Linked DNA regions of Homo sapiens: regions 1 and 3 are each linked to region 2. The links are contacts of gene promoters, found by promoter capture Hi-C in blood cells and fetal thymus (Javierre and others, 2016). All regions are on one chromosome and are shown on one strand. The core of a region is centred on a gene start or on the middle of the fragment in contact, and the rest is flanking DNA. Distances in the headings are between cores, read along the strand shown.

The links. Contacts are between HindIII fragments. The CHiCAGO score rates a contact against its expected background, and 5 or more counts as called.
Region 1: a contact is called between a fragment that was not itself captured here and the fragment with the promoter of GORASP1 in region 2, in 6 of 17 cell types (total B cells, monocytes, naive B cells and 3 more). The highest score is 10.8, in total B cells.
Region 3: a contact is called between a fragment that was not itself captured here and the fragment with the promoter of GORASP1 in region 2, in 7 of 17 cell types (monocytes, total B cells, naive B cells and 4 more). The highest score is 12.6, in monocytes.

The regions. Positions count from the first base shown.
Region 1 is chr3:39,139,939-39,144,406 of GRCh38, reverse strand. CSRNP1 (cysteine and serine rich nuclear protein 1) reads left to right here. Exons shown (of 5, transcript NM_033027.4): 4 at 1-270; 5 at 363-2,552. The coding sequence ends at 1,352. Among named protein-coding and RNA genes, the nearest start is that of MIR6822, 4.0 kb to the right of the region's middle. The HindIII fragment of the contact is 8,062 bases long and covers 1-4,468 here.
Region 2 is chr3:39,104,367-39,108,975 of GRCh38, reverse strand. It overlaps GORASP1 (golgi reassembly stacking protein 1), which reads left to right and starts at 1,349. Exons shown (of 9, transcript NM_031899.4): 1 at 1,349-1,497. The coding sequence starts at 1,435. TTC21A (tetratricopeptide repeat domain 21A) reads right to left here and starts at 1,296. Exons shown (of 29, transcript NM_001366900.1): 1 at 1,112-1,296. The coding sequence starts at 1,138. RefSeq lists a silencer at 1,400-1,719. The HindIII fragment of the contact is 2,080 bases long and covers 307-2,386 here.
Region 3 is chr3:39,166,989-39,171,654 of GRCh38, reverse strand. LOC101928263 (a long non-coding RNA gene) reads right to left here. Exons shown (of 3, transcript XR_245209.4): 2 at 1,582-1,718. Among named protein-coding and RNA genes, the nearest start is that of CSRNP1, 16 kb to the right of the region's middle. The HindIII fragment of the contact is 2,483 bases long and covers 1,834-4,316 here.

The DNA.
Region 1 (4,468 bases), core at 1,160-3,659, 34 kb before region 2:
GTGGTGGATGCCATTGATGACGCCTCTGTGGAGGAGGACTTGGCAGTCGCTGTGGCAGGTGGCCGGTTGGAAGAAGTGAGCTTCCTACAGCCCTACCCAGCCCGGCGACGTCGAGCTCTGCTGAGGGCTTCAGGTGTGCGAAGGATCGATCGGGAGGAGAAGCGGGAGCTGCAGGCACTGCGCCAATCCCGGGAGGATTGTGGCTGTCACTGCGATAGGATCTGCGACCCTGAGACCTGCAGCTGCAGCCTGGCAGGCATCAAGTGCCAGGTGTGGTGGCTGGACTGGGATGGGGATCCTGAGCGTGGGGACTTCTTTGCACTCCACAGAACCCTCACTTGTACCTCTACTTTTCTCTGCAGATGGACCACACAGCATTCCCCTGTGGCTGCTGCAGGGAGGGCTGTGAGAACCCCATGGGCCGTGTGGAATTTAATCAGGCAAGAGTTCAGACCCATTTCATCCACACACTCACCCGCCTGCAGTTGGAACAGGAGGCTGAGAGCTTTAGGGAGCTGGAGGCCCCTGCCCAGGGCAGCCCACCCAGCCCTGGTGAGGAGGCCCTGGTCCCTACTTTCCCACTGGCCAAGCCCCCCATGAACAATGAGCTGGGAGACAACAGCTGCAGCAGCGACATGACTGATTCTTCTACAGCATCTTCATCAGCATCGGGCACTAGTGAGGCTCCTGACTGCCCCACCCACCCAGGCCTGCCTGGCCCTGGCTTCCAGCCTGGCGTTGATGATGACAGCCTGGCACGCATCTTGAGTTTCAGTGACTCTGACTTCGGTGGGGAGGAGGAGGAAGAGGAGGAAGGGAGCGTGGGGAACCTGGACAACCTCAGCTGCTTCCATCCAGCTGACATCTTTGGTACTAGTGACCCTGGTGGCCTGGCCAGCTGGACCCACAGCTATTCTGGCTGTAGCTTCACATCAGGCGTCCTGGATGAGAATGCCAACCTGGATGCCAGCTGCTTCCTAAATGGTGGCCTTGAAGGGTCAAGGGAAGGCAGCCTTCCTGGCACCTCAGTGCCACCCAGCATGGACGCTGGCCGGAGTAGCTCAGTGGATCTCAGCTTGTCTTCTTGTGACTCCTTTGAGTTACTCCAGGCTCTGCCAGATTATAGTCTGGGGCCTCACTACACATCACAGAAGGTGTCTGACAGCCTGGACAACATCGAGGCACCTCACTTCCCCCTGCCTGGCCTGTCTCCACCTGGGGATGCCAGCAGTTGCTTCCTGGAGTCCCTCATGGGCTTCTCCGAGCCAGCCGCCGAAGCCCTAGATCCCTTTATTGACAGCCAGTTTGAGGACACTGTCCCAGCATCTCTAATGGAGCCTGTGCCGGTGTGAGGACCAGGATGTCTTTTCCCAGCCCCAAGAGACCTGTTGCTGCTTTCTTGTAATTATGGGGCTCCCCAGAGTCTGCGTAACAGTCTCCCACTGGCTGGCTCACCCACAGGTGCCATGTGCACACTCCTGGTTTTCAAACAATTCTCTGGATTTATTTATTTGTTTTAACTTTTCTGTGCTGAAGAGAGGACTGGGGGGAGGGGGCTTCCCCTTTCAGCTGCCCGGCCCCCCACACCCACAGCTTGCTCTTCTATCTCCACAACGTGAGCCTGGAAGAGGAGAAAATGTGGCTCCTCTGGAGCTTGGCAGACCACTTTTCGGTCTTTGCGTGATGTTCCTTAGCCCAAAGACGGTGAGACAGGGCTGAAATCAGGTGGCTTCTGCCACCCTGAGCCCTAGACCCATGGGTGGCTAAATCCACTGGACTGTGAAGACTATAATTTATTTCCATAATTTATTTGGAGATTGAGGAGGCTTTGGTTGCACTTCTTTGGCTGGTGGGTAATGCCAGGGGTGGGGTGGGCACAGGCCCTCAAGAGCCCCTTTTGCCTTGTAGTCCTACACCTTGCCCTGCCTGGGCTTTGGTGCAGACTAGGTGTGGATTTGAGCTCTGTGATCTATGTCTGCTGCCTGGCTCCTAGATGGCTCTGTGGGCAGGTGCTGGCCAAGGACATCATCTAGGCAGGGGGAGAGCCTGGGCTGAACAGCTGTGACCAAAACTCCCTTCTGCCCCACCCTGCCCCCTCCACTTCCTGCCCTCTGTTCCATCTTCCCCCTTCCCAAAGGCCACAGCCTTTATTCCAGGCCCAGGGATGTAGGAGGGGGAAGGAGGAAACAGGAAGCCCAGAGAGGGCAAAGGGCCTACCTCGGGGCGCGAACCATGCCCCAGACTATTATCTCAGGGCTTTCTGGGCACTGCACTTCAGCGTGGCCCACCTGCCCATGCCCTGAGGCCAGTTGGCGAGGGGTGGCTCCTGAGGGTTTTTATACCCTTTGTTTGCTAATGTTTAATTTTGCATCATAATTTCTACATTGTCCCTGAGTGTCAGAACTATAATTTATTCCATTTCTCTCTGTGTCTGTGCCAAGAAACGCAGGCTCTGGGCCTGCCCCTTGCCCAGGAGGCCTTGCCAGCCTGTGTGCTTGTGGGAACACCTTGTACCTGAGCTTACAGGTACCAATAAAGAGGCTTTATTTTTAGCAATGTGGTATGTATTTGTGGGGTGGGAAGCAGGGGCAAAGGGGATGGGGGACAAGCCCTGCAGAGGGGAGTATGGACACAGGCTGTGTTGAGGGGTAGGAGTAGGCACACCCAGCATATTGGGCCTCTTTCCAGGCAAGCCAGTCAAGTTGGAGGCAGGAAGCCAGCTGAGAGGCTGGCCAGGCAGATAGAGCAGTTTTTCCTTTGGAGTAACCTGTTCCTCTACAGTGGTGACCTGGGGTGGTGGGGAGGAGCAGCACCAGGGTCTTCTGACATGGGGCTATCTGCTGGGGATGGGTAAGGGCACCCTTCTTCCTACACACCCACACTGAGCTGAGGCCTTGTCCTGAGGGTGAATTCACCAACCTGGGTGGAGGCAGGGTAAGGGCATGTGCCTGGTCAAGGCCTGGTGATGGCCTTACGTAGCAGCTGTGGTCCCTGGGGACTTGAGCAGGGGGGCAGCGGAAAGGGCAGGGGGAAGCTGCAGAACCTCATCCCTCTGCACCAGCCAGACCTGTCTGACCTGTCCCTGGCAGCTCAGCTGGGCAGCAGGCCAGAGGAGTAGGCCACACCCTGCTCTGGGGAGCCCCAGTCTGGGGGCCTGAGAAAGGTTGACTTCCCCCTTAGGAATGATAGTGATTTGTACAAGAGCTGGAAGGAGGAACCGCCAGAGGAGAACTGATTTGGGTCTCCTTGCTCTAATTCTCTGCCTTGGTCTGTACTGGGCTCACTCATCTCTTTGGCTTAACTGGTAAGAGCACAGAGCCAGAATGCTGGGCTTGAATCTCAGATTTTCTGCTACCTAGTGAGGTGATTTGTGCAAATTACTCCCTCTGTGCCTGGGTGTCCTCAATACTACATGCAAACAGTAACACTACTCACCTCATAAACTTGTTTATTTCATATTTACAAAGCCCTTAAAGAGTGCCTGGAACATGCAAGTCCTGTGTATGTTTGCAACTTGCATTGATTTTCATGTTTCTGCCATTCTTTCTCTGAATGTTTAATCCTTTTTTTGCCTGTCCTGTCACCCTTCAGGTATCTGTCTCTTGCCTCTGGACATGCATGGTCATGACCACATGGCCATATCAGTGCCATTAGAGGACTCATAGTTTGGAGTCTGGCCTATGGTGCGGCAGTATGTCCCTGTAACCAGCTTAACTAGGAATAGGCTTCTCAGGTTAGAGTACCCTGGTACATTGAGTTGTCCTGTCTCTTCTTCACTGGTGCCTAGACACCCTTCTGTAGCGATTACTTCAGCAAGCACAATCCAAAACCTGGGTTCTTCAAGGGTTCCCAGGGTCACTCTGATTGGCCTGGTGGTCTGGGTGGCAGCCCTCAGCTCCAGTACTCTGGCAGGAAGTCCCAACAGGCTTCCACCACATGGACTCAGCCCATGGCTGGACTGAGGCCTGCCTACTCCCATCTAGGGCCACAGGGTTCTTAGTTTTTGTTTCTCTGTTTTTAGATAAATGAAGACAATCTAGGTTTTACAGCAAAAACATGATTAATGTACAATCCCTTTACAGGATCATTCTCCATATAGATAGACCTGTCAACAAACCTGTCCCAACAAAACTGGGTTGTAAAGCAGATCACAGAAAGGGGACTGGGTTTTCCCGTAGGAAAAATGGTAGTAACCTGGAGAAAGCATTCCAGATCCCCAGCTCATATCAACAAACCATGTATGTGATCAGCAGTGTGTTATAAAAACAAGGCTCAGCACCATCCGAGTTACACTGTTCCAAAGGGACCCTTATCTGTCCACTGTTCCCAAACCTTAGTCACTGGACAACTGCTCTTGAAAACTCTGCCCATATCATATCTGCATTCTACTTACTCTAAATAATTTTTCTTTAAATCAATTATATCAGTATGCTTAAAAGTTAAACCCATCCCATGGAACAGCACCCAT
Region 2 (4,609 bases), core at 100-2,599:
CTGCAAAGGGAAGAGAAAGAGGAAACATTCAGGCCTCATCCTGTCCTCTAACAGCCCTGGGAGCAGCTCCATGCAGTTTTCCCAGGAAAGAGTTTGGAGGTGTTTGTTTGGGGGATTACCAACAGATTCTGGTTCAACTATGATGGGGAATTCAACCAAGGCTTTGTCTTAGGAAGGGAATAAGGGGGGAAAAATGAGGACAAATAATAAGAAAAATTATACGAATTGTAGTTACAAGTTATTGTGGGCTTCATATCCACTATCCTGTGCATGGTCCTCTCAGTATCTTTCACAGCTAAGGAAGCTTAAGCCCATGGAAACTACAGCTTGACAAAGGGGCTGAGATTTTAAAGTTAAGTTTCACTTCCTCTAAGGTTTGTGGGTGCTAGGTTGGGAGCAGATGTGGTTGGACTGTAAACATCCTCATGGGCCATATGAAAGAGCCCAGACACCATCCTAAGGGTAACAGAAAGCAGAATGGTTTTAAGGCGAGGGATGTTTTCAGATGTACATTTTTGCAACAACCACTCTGGCTGCTTTTGCATGTGGGGGGTGTGTGCCGTGGTGGCAGCAGGGACTACTGATGCTGAAAAGAGCCACAGCAGAGAAACCAGATGGGAGGGAGGCTGTTGCAGGCTCTCAGGGGGGAGAGATGGTGCTGGTTCTGGGCTAGAAGATAAAAAGATAAAAAGAAAACCCAGGAGACATCAAGGAGCTGGCATTTCTTGTAGACAGGATTAGAAGATGAGTATAGGGAAGAGGTATGAGTTAAGGCTAGGAGATTAAATGGTGAAGCCATCAACTGGGGTGGGAGGCGCAGGCGAGAGTGAGCTGGGTGGAAGAAGGGATGATGACAAGAAGGGATAATGATAGTGATTGGATGAGCTGGTTTGGGGTAGCTCAAGAAACGGGGATGCTAATTTGGGGCTCAGGGTGCGCAGAAGCCACCGGAGAAGACGCCCTTGCCAGGGGGAGTGGGGCAAGAAAAGGCAGGACCGCCTGATATAACTGAGGACAGCGAAGGGTGGCAGGAGAGTAGCAGGGCAGACGGTCTCTGGGTCAGGGGCGGGGAGTCACGAGGGAGCCCTCGGACAGCGCCCGGGCCACGCACCATAAGGGAGGAGTCATTGCTGCTCATCTCGGGCCGCTCGCGGCTCCGAGTCCGGGTCTGGTGGGGCGGTGCAGAGCGGGATTCCCGAGGCAGGGTCGTGGGCACTCTATCGCGGCGGGCGGTTGAAGGCGTTACAGTCCTTGGAAACCGAGCTGCTAGCCGGTTGCTAGGAGCGTCCAGTGTCTGGAGTGGGAGGAACAAAACGCCTCACGTCACAAGGCGCAGGAATCGAGCGCCGAGAGAGCGAGTCGGTGCTACTGGCGTCGGGTCGGTCCGGGTAGGCGCAGCGGGACTGGACCTGGGTGCCGAGCGGAGCCGCTGCCATGGGCCTGGGCGTCAGCGCTGAGCAGCCCGCAGGCGGCGCCGAGGGCTTCCACCTCCACGGGGTGAGTTGCCGCCGCGGCGCCGGTGACCTTGGCGAGGCGCCCGCAACCCCGCGCCCGGGCGTCCGGTCGCCGGCTGGCTGGCGACTGCGGCGGGGTCCCGGCCCGAGTGTTTCCGCCTGGGTGGCGGGAGGTGCCCCCTGCCCGGTGGGAGCCTCCTGGGAGAGGCGGCCTCGCGGGACTCCCGGACCCTGGCTAGTCCGCGGCCGCGGTCGGGCCCAGCGCCCGCCCCAAGTGCCAGCAGTGCCGGAAGCGGAGCGTTTTCCTGGTCCGGCCGCCGGGAATGGCGCTCCTCCCGGGTGAAGAATGCACCACTACCAGTCGGGACGCACTCGTGCACTTAGCACACATTTACGCTCGCCTGCCGCGGGCCGCTCTCCGTGCTGGGCCTGGGAAGAGAGTCAGCCACGCCGAGGACAGTCCCGGGGGCCGGGGTTAACCGAGTGGACGCAGCTGCGGGGGAGCCCGTCGGCGCGCGTCCTGCCAGTCGTAGGGTCGTAAGGGCTTCCGAGGGTAGAGGACCGGTGCAAACCAGCCACGGGATAGTGGGGAGCGGGAGGGCCGGGAGAGTGCTGCAGAATCCTCGAGGAGAGCGTTTGCAGCTGGGGAGGGTCCCAGCCTTTAGATGCCGCTACATGGAGGTCTGGGCGAGCAGGCTTCCGGAGAGTGGAGACGGAGTGGGGTTCCTAGAACGGAGTGTGCTGTGAGGGTGAGGAGAGGGTCCCGCAGCCGGATGGAGATTTGTGCCTGCGGTGAGGGAAGGGCTATAATGTAGGTGAGAGGGGCTGGGGGTCTCTGACCCCGGAGCGCTGCGGGGAAGAGGCGTCCCTGCACCCCCCCTTTCCCTAGTGAAAGGCAGCTGGATGCAGAGATGAGTGGAGACAGGCAAGCTTGTCGGTTTGTGTGTTTTGAAGGTAGGGTCTGTTGCCAGCTAACCACATGAGAGGGCTAAAAGTTTCTTAACGTGAAAACCAGGCTGGCTTGGAGAACCCAGAGTTGACAGGATTTGTGCTTGGGAATGGGCTTTCTTATGGTGAGACACCAAACAGCAAGCGTGGACAGTGGAATGCATCCAGCCAGGAGCGTCTTCCAACAGGTTTGATTAAAGGCAAAGGAACTCAGGATATTGGCAAGAGGAGGGGTGGGGCGATGATGGGAGCTTCGAAGACGGGAGGGGCCTGCCTGATGGAGAGGGACAAATTGGAGAGGGACCAGGGATCAGAGGTTGTCAGTCACAAAAACAAAGTTTTGAGCTCCTACTCTGGCAGGCAGAATTCTAAGGCTCTAGAGATAAAGCAGTGAACAGAACAAACATGGTCCCTGTTCTGGAGCTGACATTTGGATGATGGTAGGGAAAGAAGGGAAATGAAAAAATACATGGTAGGTGGTAATTACCAGTGATAAAAATAAAGCAGGTTAAGGGGATACAGAATGGTGAGTGGGTGCTATTTTTGATAGAGTGGTCAGGAAGGGCCTCTTCTCAAGTCACATTCGAACAGATGCTTCTGAAGGAAGTAAAGAGTGGACAATACAGATATTTAGGGGAATAGTAGTATTCCAGGCAGAAGGACCAGCTTGTGCAGAGGCCCCGAGGTAGGTTGTGCTTGTGTGTTTGAGGAAATGCCAGGTGAGGCTGGTGTGCTTGGATGGTGTGGCCAGTGTGAGGAGGAGACCAGAGCAGACCGTGTAGGACCTTGCCTGTTGTCCTGAAGATTTAAGATTTTATTCTGAGATGTAAAACCATCAGGAGGTTTTAAATGGAGGAGTGACATGACCTACTTACCTTTAACAACACTGAAGAACAGCTGTGCTGCATTCTAGAAATATTGGCACCTCGCTGCGTGCCCAATACTTTGGAGAAGTCGCTGCCCTCAGCGAGCTTAGAGTAGTGGCAGATTCACCAGGAAACAGCTGTTAGGAGAGGGCAGTGGTTAGGGGGAGGGCTCTGGGTTGGATTTCCTGGGGTCAAATTACTGAATTATTGAGTACTTGGTCTCATTTGTCATTTGAGGTTATTAAAAAGGTTAAATGACACATAAAGCAGGTGAGGTGGTGCCATGCCCTGGCACTCAGCCAACCAGCCCTTAGTAAGTGTAAGTTGTGATCACTGTGAGTTCCATTAGGTTCCCTGATTGGGAAAAATAGGGTGGGAGCATGAGGAAAAGCAGCACTATAGGGCCTTGGGGCAGGCTGTGATGGGAGCCCCTGAGGGAGCTGGATGGCAGGCAGTGGTTTCTGCAGGGGGAGCCGTACAGTGGGCAGCAGCATAGATTATTTCAGCTGCGGAGCCATAGTGAGTAGTGATGAGGCCCCAGGTGAGAGAAGTGGAGTGTAGCCAAGCAGAGGACAAAGCCACAGGAGAGGGTGGTGGAGGTATTGGGTGGGTCAAGGAGGCCAGGCCTGGGGCCTGACCCTCTGGACCTCATTCATGATGGAGAGCAGCTGACATGCAATACTGGGGAGTGGGGAGGGAAGTAGGCAGGCACCTGACGTGGAGTGATTTGGAGGTGGCCCTGATTAGGGAGGGGCATTGTCCCCAAGCTATTCCTGAATAACTGTCCTGTCCTGTGGTTTTCGAAAGATCCCCTCACCTGAAGGGTTAGAGGGCAGGGCCCAGAGCTCCCCTGCAGCGGGGCCTGGGAGCAGCTTGCCTACTGGGCCAGGCCAACTAGGCCCAGATCTGATTTCTGGGCCGCACTCACTCCCTTTGGAAGCCATGGCAGCTTCTGGAGGTGATAAGGAGGGGCTCAGTTGGTGATGCTGCCAGAAGGGAATCCTAATTCCAGGGGCAAACTGGCCTTGATCTCAGCGGTTTGTTCTCAGCCTAGTCTTCATGAGCTCTCCTTCAGGTTGGGGAATCCAAACCTGGAGGGGCTGGTATGTAGCAGGAGCCACAGGGCCTTTCCCATGAGGAGGCAGCAAGAGCCTAGGTCCTGTGCCCTCTGGGCTGGGTCTGGCTGGTGTCTACGCCAACAGGTTATCAAATGCCCGCAGCCAAAGACCTGAGGGTGTGGGCCCATCTTCGGGTCTAGGGCCTTGGGACAAAGCCTGCATTGTTTAAGCCAGGCTCTGTATATGGGGCTTTTGGGATGGATTTCTGCCACAGCCTGCAAAG
Region 3 (4,666 bases), core at 1,826-4,325, 61 kb before region 2:
TGACCAGGACACCTACATGTGAGGTGTCTGCCAGGTAGCCCAGGCTTCCTCACAATATGGTGGCTGAGTTTCAAAAGCGAGTATTCCAAGAAAAAGCTAGGTAGAAGCTATATCACCATTTCTAACTTAGCCTTAGAAATCACACACTATCACTTATTTTACGTTCTATTTATTAGAAGCAAGTCACTAAGTCTGGCCCATTTTCTTTCTTTTTATTGAGACGGCGTCTCGCTCTGTCACCCAAGCTGGAGTGCAATGGCATGATCTCGGTTTACTGCAACCTCTGCCTCCAGGGTTCAAGCGATTCTCCTGCCTCAGCCTCCCAAGTAGCTGGGATTACAGGCGCGCGCCACCACGCCTGGCTAATTTTTGTATTTTTAGTAGAGACAGGGTTTCACCATGTTGGTCAGGCTGGTCTCGAACTCCTGACCTTGTGATCCACCCGCCTCAGCCTCCCAAAGTGCTAGGATTACAGGTGTGAGACACTGCGCCCAGCCACCTGGCCTGTTTTCAAGGGGAGGGATGTTAGATTCTGATTTTGATAAGAAGAGCATGTGGCCAGGCGTGGTGGCTCATGCCTGTAATCTCAGCACTTGAGGAGGCCGAGGTGGGTGGATCACTTGAGGTCAGGAGTTCAAGACCAGCCTGGGCAACATGGTGACTATCTCCACCAAAAACACAAAATGTGTCAGGCATGGTGATACACGCCTGTAATCCTGGCTACTTGGGAGGCTGAGGCAGGAGAATTGCTTGAACCTGGGAGGTGGAGGTTGCAATGAGGCAAGATTATGCCACTGCACTCTAGCCTGGCAAAAAAAAAAAAAAAAAAAGACTTAATTGCAAAAAAAAAAAAAAAAGCATGAAAGAATGTGTAGGCATGTTTTTAAACCATCACAGCCATTATTATTGTTGTTGCCTTTAGTATGCTCTAGCCTGTAGTATGGGAACTATCCCACTTCTTAGCCTATGCGCTCACCGCGGGAGGGCAGGAATGCATTCGATTCTTTAAGGTTCATCTCCTGAGCCCTCTATCATTCTGCATGTGAGCCTAGGGCCCTGCAGGATTCAGTGACTGTTATATAAATGAATTTCCTCTTGCAAGAGCTGGCCCTGGACATTTATGCTCCAGTTCCTTAGGATGACATCCCAGTTGGCCCCATAAGAACTAAGGTGAGAGCCAGGTGCAGTGGCTCACGCCGGTAATCCCAGCACTTTGGGAGGCCAAGGCGGGTGGATCATCTGAGATCAGGATTTCGAGACCAGCCTGGCCAACATGGTGAAACCTTGTCTCTACTAAAAATACAAAAATTAGCCGGGCATGGTGGCAGGTGCCTGTAGTCCCAGCTACTTGGGAGGCTGAGGCAGGAGAATCGCCTGAACCCAGGAGGTGGAGGTTGCAGTGAGCTGAGATTGTGCCACTGCAGTCCAGCCTGGGCAACAGGGTGAGAGGTGAGACTCTGTCTCAAAAAACAAACAAACAAACAAACAAACAAAACCTGAGGTGAGGGATCTGGACAGGACACAGCTAGGAGAGCGGGTGATTTTACCAGCAGGGCCATGATTCTAATAGGCCCTACTTACCTTGGGGTAGTGGATGATTGAGAGGGTAAGCTTATGGTTTAAACTCCTTCCAAAGCTTCCTCTGAAGTTGGAATGGCAAAATCATTGTCTGGAGTCAGGTCATGGGTTCATGATATAACCTCTTTCTTGGCCTTAGTCTGTCAAATGGAAATAAGAAAAGGTCCATAGGTTAGACATTTCCAATCGGTTATTTAGAAAACTAGGTTAGAAGCCAATTTCTTCTTCTGGAAATGGTTGACAGGGTCACAAGCTTCTCTCATAGGAAATAGGAAAAGATGAAGCACAGAGAAAAATGCCTTGTTCTGTGGGACATGAATCCATCTCAGTTTCTTTTTCTTTTTCTTCTTCTTCTTCTTCTTCTTTTTTTTTTTTTTTTTTTTTTTTTTTTGAGACAGAGTTTCACTCTTGTTGTCCAGGCTGGAGTGCAGTGGCGCAATCTCGGCTCACTACAACCTCTGCCTCCTGGGTTCAAGCAATTCTCCTGCCTCAACCTACCGAGTAGCTGGGATTACAGGCATGCCCCACCATGCCCGGTTAATTTTTGTATATTTAGTAGAGACAAGGTCTCACCACGTTGGCCGGGCTGGTCTCGAACTTCTGACCTCAGGCGATTCACCCTCCTTGGCCTCCCAAAGTGCTGGGATTATAAGTGTGAGCCACCACGCCCAGCCCCCTCTCAGTTTCTTTGAGATCCACAGAGCCAGGGTCTAATCCCAGAGAGAAACGAGTGTGTACACAGATGATCTCCTACTTACTATGGTTCTATTTACAATTTTTGTACTTCACTATAGTGTGAAAGCTATACACATTTAGTAGAAACCGTACTTCAAGTACCCATACAACTATTCTATTTTTCACTTTTAGTATTTAATAAATTACAGGACATATGCAACACTTTATTGTAAGATAGTCTTAAAAGTGTTAGATGATTTTGCCCAGCTGTAGGCTAGTATAAATGTTCTGAACACATTTAAAGTAGGAGAGGCTAAGCTATGTTGTTTAGTAGGTTAGGTGTATTAAATGCATTTTTGACTAATGATATTTTCAATTTATGATGGGTTTATCAGGACTTAACTCCATCATAAGCCGAAGAGATCTCTGTGTGGGATGTTTGTGTGGGGACTTCTTTAGGAAAGATCCAGGAAGGAACAGACCAGAAAACCCTTCATTTCAATGGTGAGGGCAGGAGCGGAAGGAGAAAAACACAAGAGCTGGGAAAGCGAGGTGAGAGGGGTTCAGGGGAGAGAGGAGGTACAGAGTGGTCAGGCCCAGCCCTTCACTGGCTGGAGACCCCTTCCAGCCTTAGCTTCCTCTTCTCTTATTCCCCTCCTGCCCCAGCTTATGCCAGGAGCTCCCTGTCCTCAGTGGATCTTCCAGGTAAGTCTAAGAAGGGCTGAGGCCCCTGTGTGTCTTGCCTGGTTGGGGGAGTTCAGGTTACACCTCCAAGGCAGCCCCCAAGGGCATCAGGACATCAGTCTATGCTGGTTCCATAGAAACACCAGGGCCGCTGGGTCTGTCCCTCACCATAGAGTAACCCTAGGCACTTCAGGGCCCCGACTCTGGGCCACAGTCCGCTCATTGATGAAATGAGCAGAGTTGTCTAGAATAGTTTTTCCTAAAATGTGTTCCATGAATCTCAGAGCCGGCAGGGATATTTCAAAGAAAAAACTGCCTCGAGCTCATTTCCCTCAGAAGCAAACCCAGAGACAAAGATTTGAGTGTTTCACTTGGATCCCAGGAAGCACTCATGGAAAGAAAGGAAGATGGGCAGGGAAGGGAAGGAAACCAACACAGGGTGTGTTGATGAGTAAATTACCAGGGTGGGCAGCTGCAGCTCAATCTCCCTGGGACCTCTGGGATGCTGTCTGGAACACCCCTCAGTGTCTACCCTAACCCATTGTCAGCTAAGGGCTGTATTCAGGGGCATGTCCAGCCTGCCCTGTGTGCCTGTGGAGCATAGTCCTGTGACCAGAAACATCACTCAGGCAGAGAGTCACCTGTGTTTGCAGTGAGAAACCATCAGGAGGTGTGAGAACTATGAAGGCCAAGGGGATACAAGCAGGGCATGGCTACACAGAGGTTGCTACACAGACAAGAAATTTTGTTCACATACATTTCATAAATGTGAGATCAATGATAATTTCCATAGAAATCTCAATACCTTTGTAATAATTATCATGGTCTTGTAGCATGCACCTGGGCCATCAGAGCTGAATTAAGCAGTTTAGCTCAGCTTGTATTTAGTAAAGAGAATAAATACCATTAGCTGTAGTCCAACTTGATAAAACATTTTCATACTGTTTTCATGGTATTATTTATATTTATTATATTTCCATTTTATTGTTACTATTATTGTTATTATATCATATAATAATGGCAGTATGGCCCCAAATCATAAAGATAGATCCATCGTTCAAAAAAGGTTCATTAAAGAATAAAAGTATTATTGAAAATAGTAACAAAAATACTGCAATATAAAGTGTGATTATATATATTAGGGCTGATGAGTGGTTGAATCAGATGATTTTATACAAGTAGGAAAAAAAGTACGAATCAGAAATAAGGGTATGGGAATGAATATCCAAAAATAGGATTTTGTTAGCTTGTAATGCATTTCCTCTTGAGGCATCATCTATTGTGAAACTTGTCAGATAGTGGCATGATGCCCAGTGAGGCCTTTGCATCATATTTGTTTGCATCAGACCTTGTAAGCTAGTTAGAAAACCAATCAAGCTTCTCCTGAATGTGAGTAAATAAAGTCTACTGTGATAGGGATGCACTTTCTCACTAAAGACAGAGAAAAGATTGAAACCACAAAGGCATCATTAAACTTGTCCAACTTACAGTGAAAATCAACACAATTCACATCATGGCTTATAAACTGAGTCATAGGCTACCAGGGAATATGATGATTACAGAAAAAGCAGAGCAAGCTCTTGATGAAATTACTGGATCAAACAACACTTTTGGCTGTCACAGAAAATCAATGGCACATTCTGTGAAAGAGCAATTGCTGTCCTGAGTGAGTGCTAGCACACAATTGGCTTCATTGTTGAATAAAACTACTTGTGGTAAGCCTCATTCA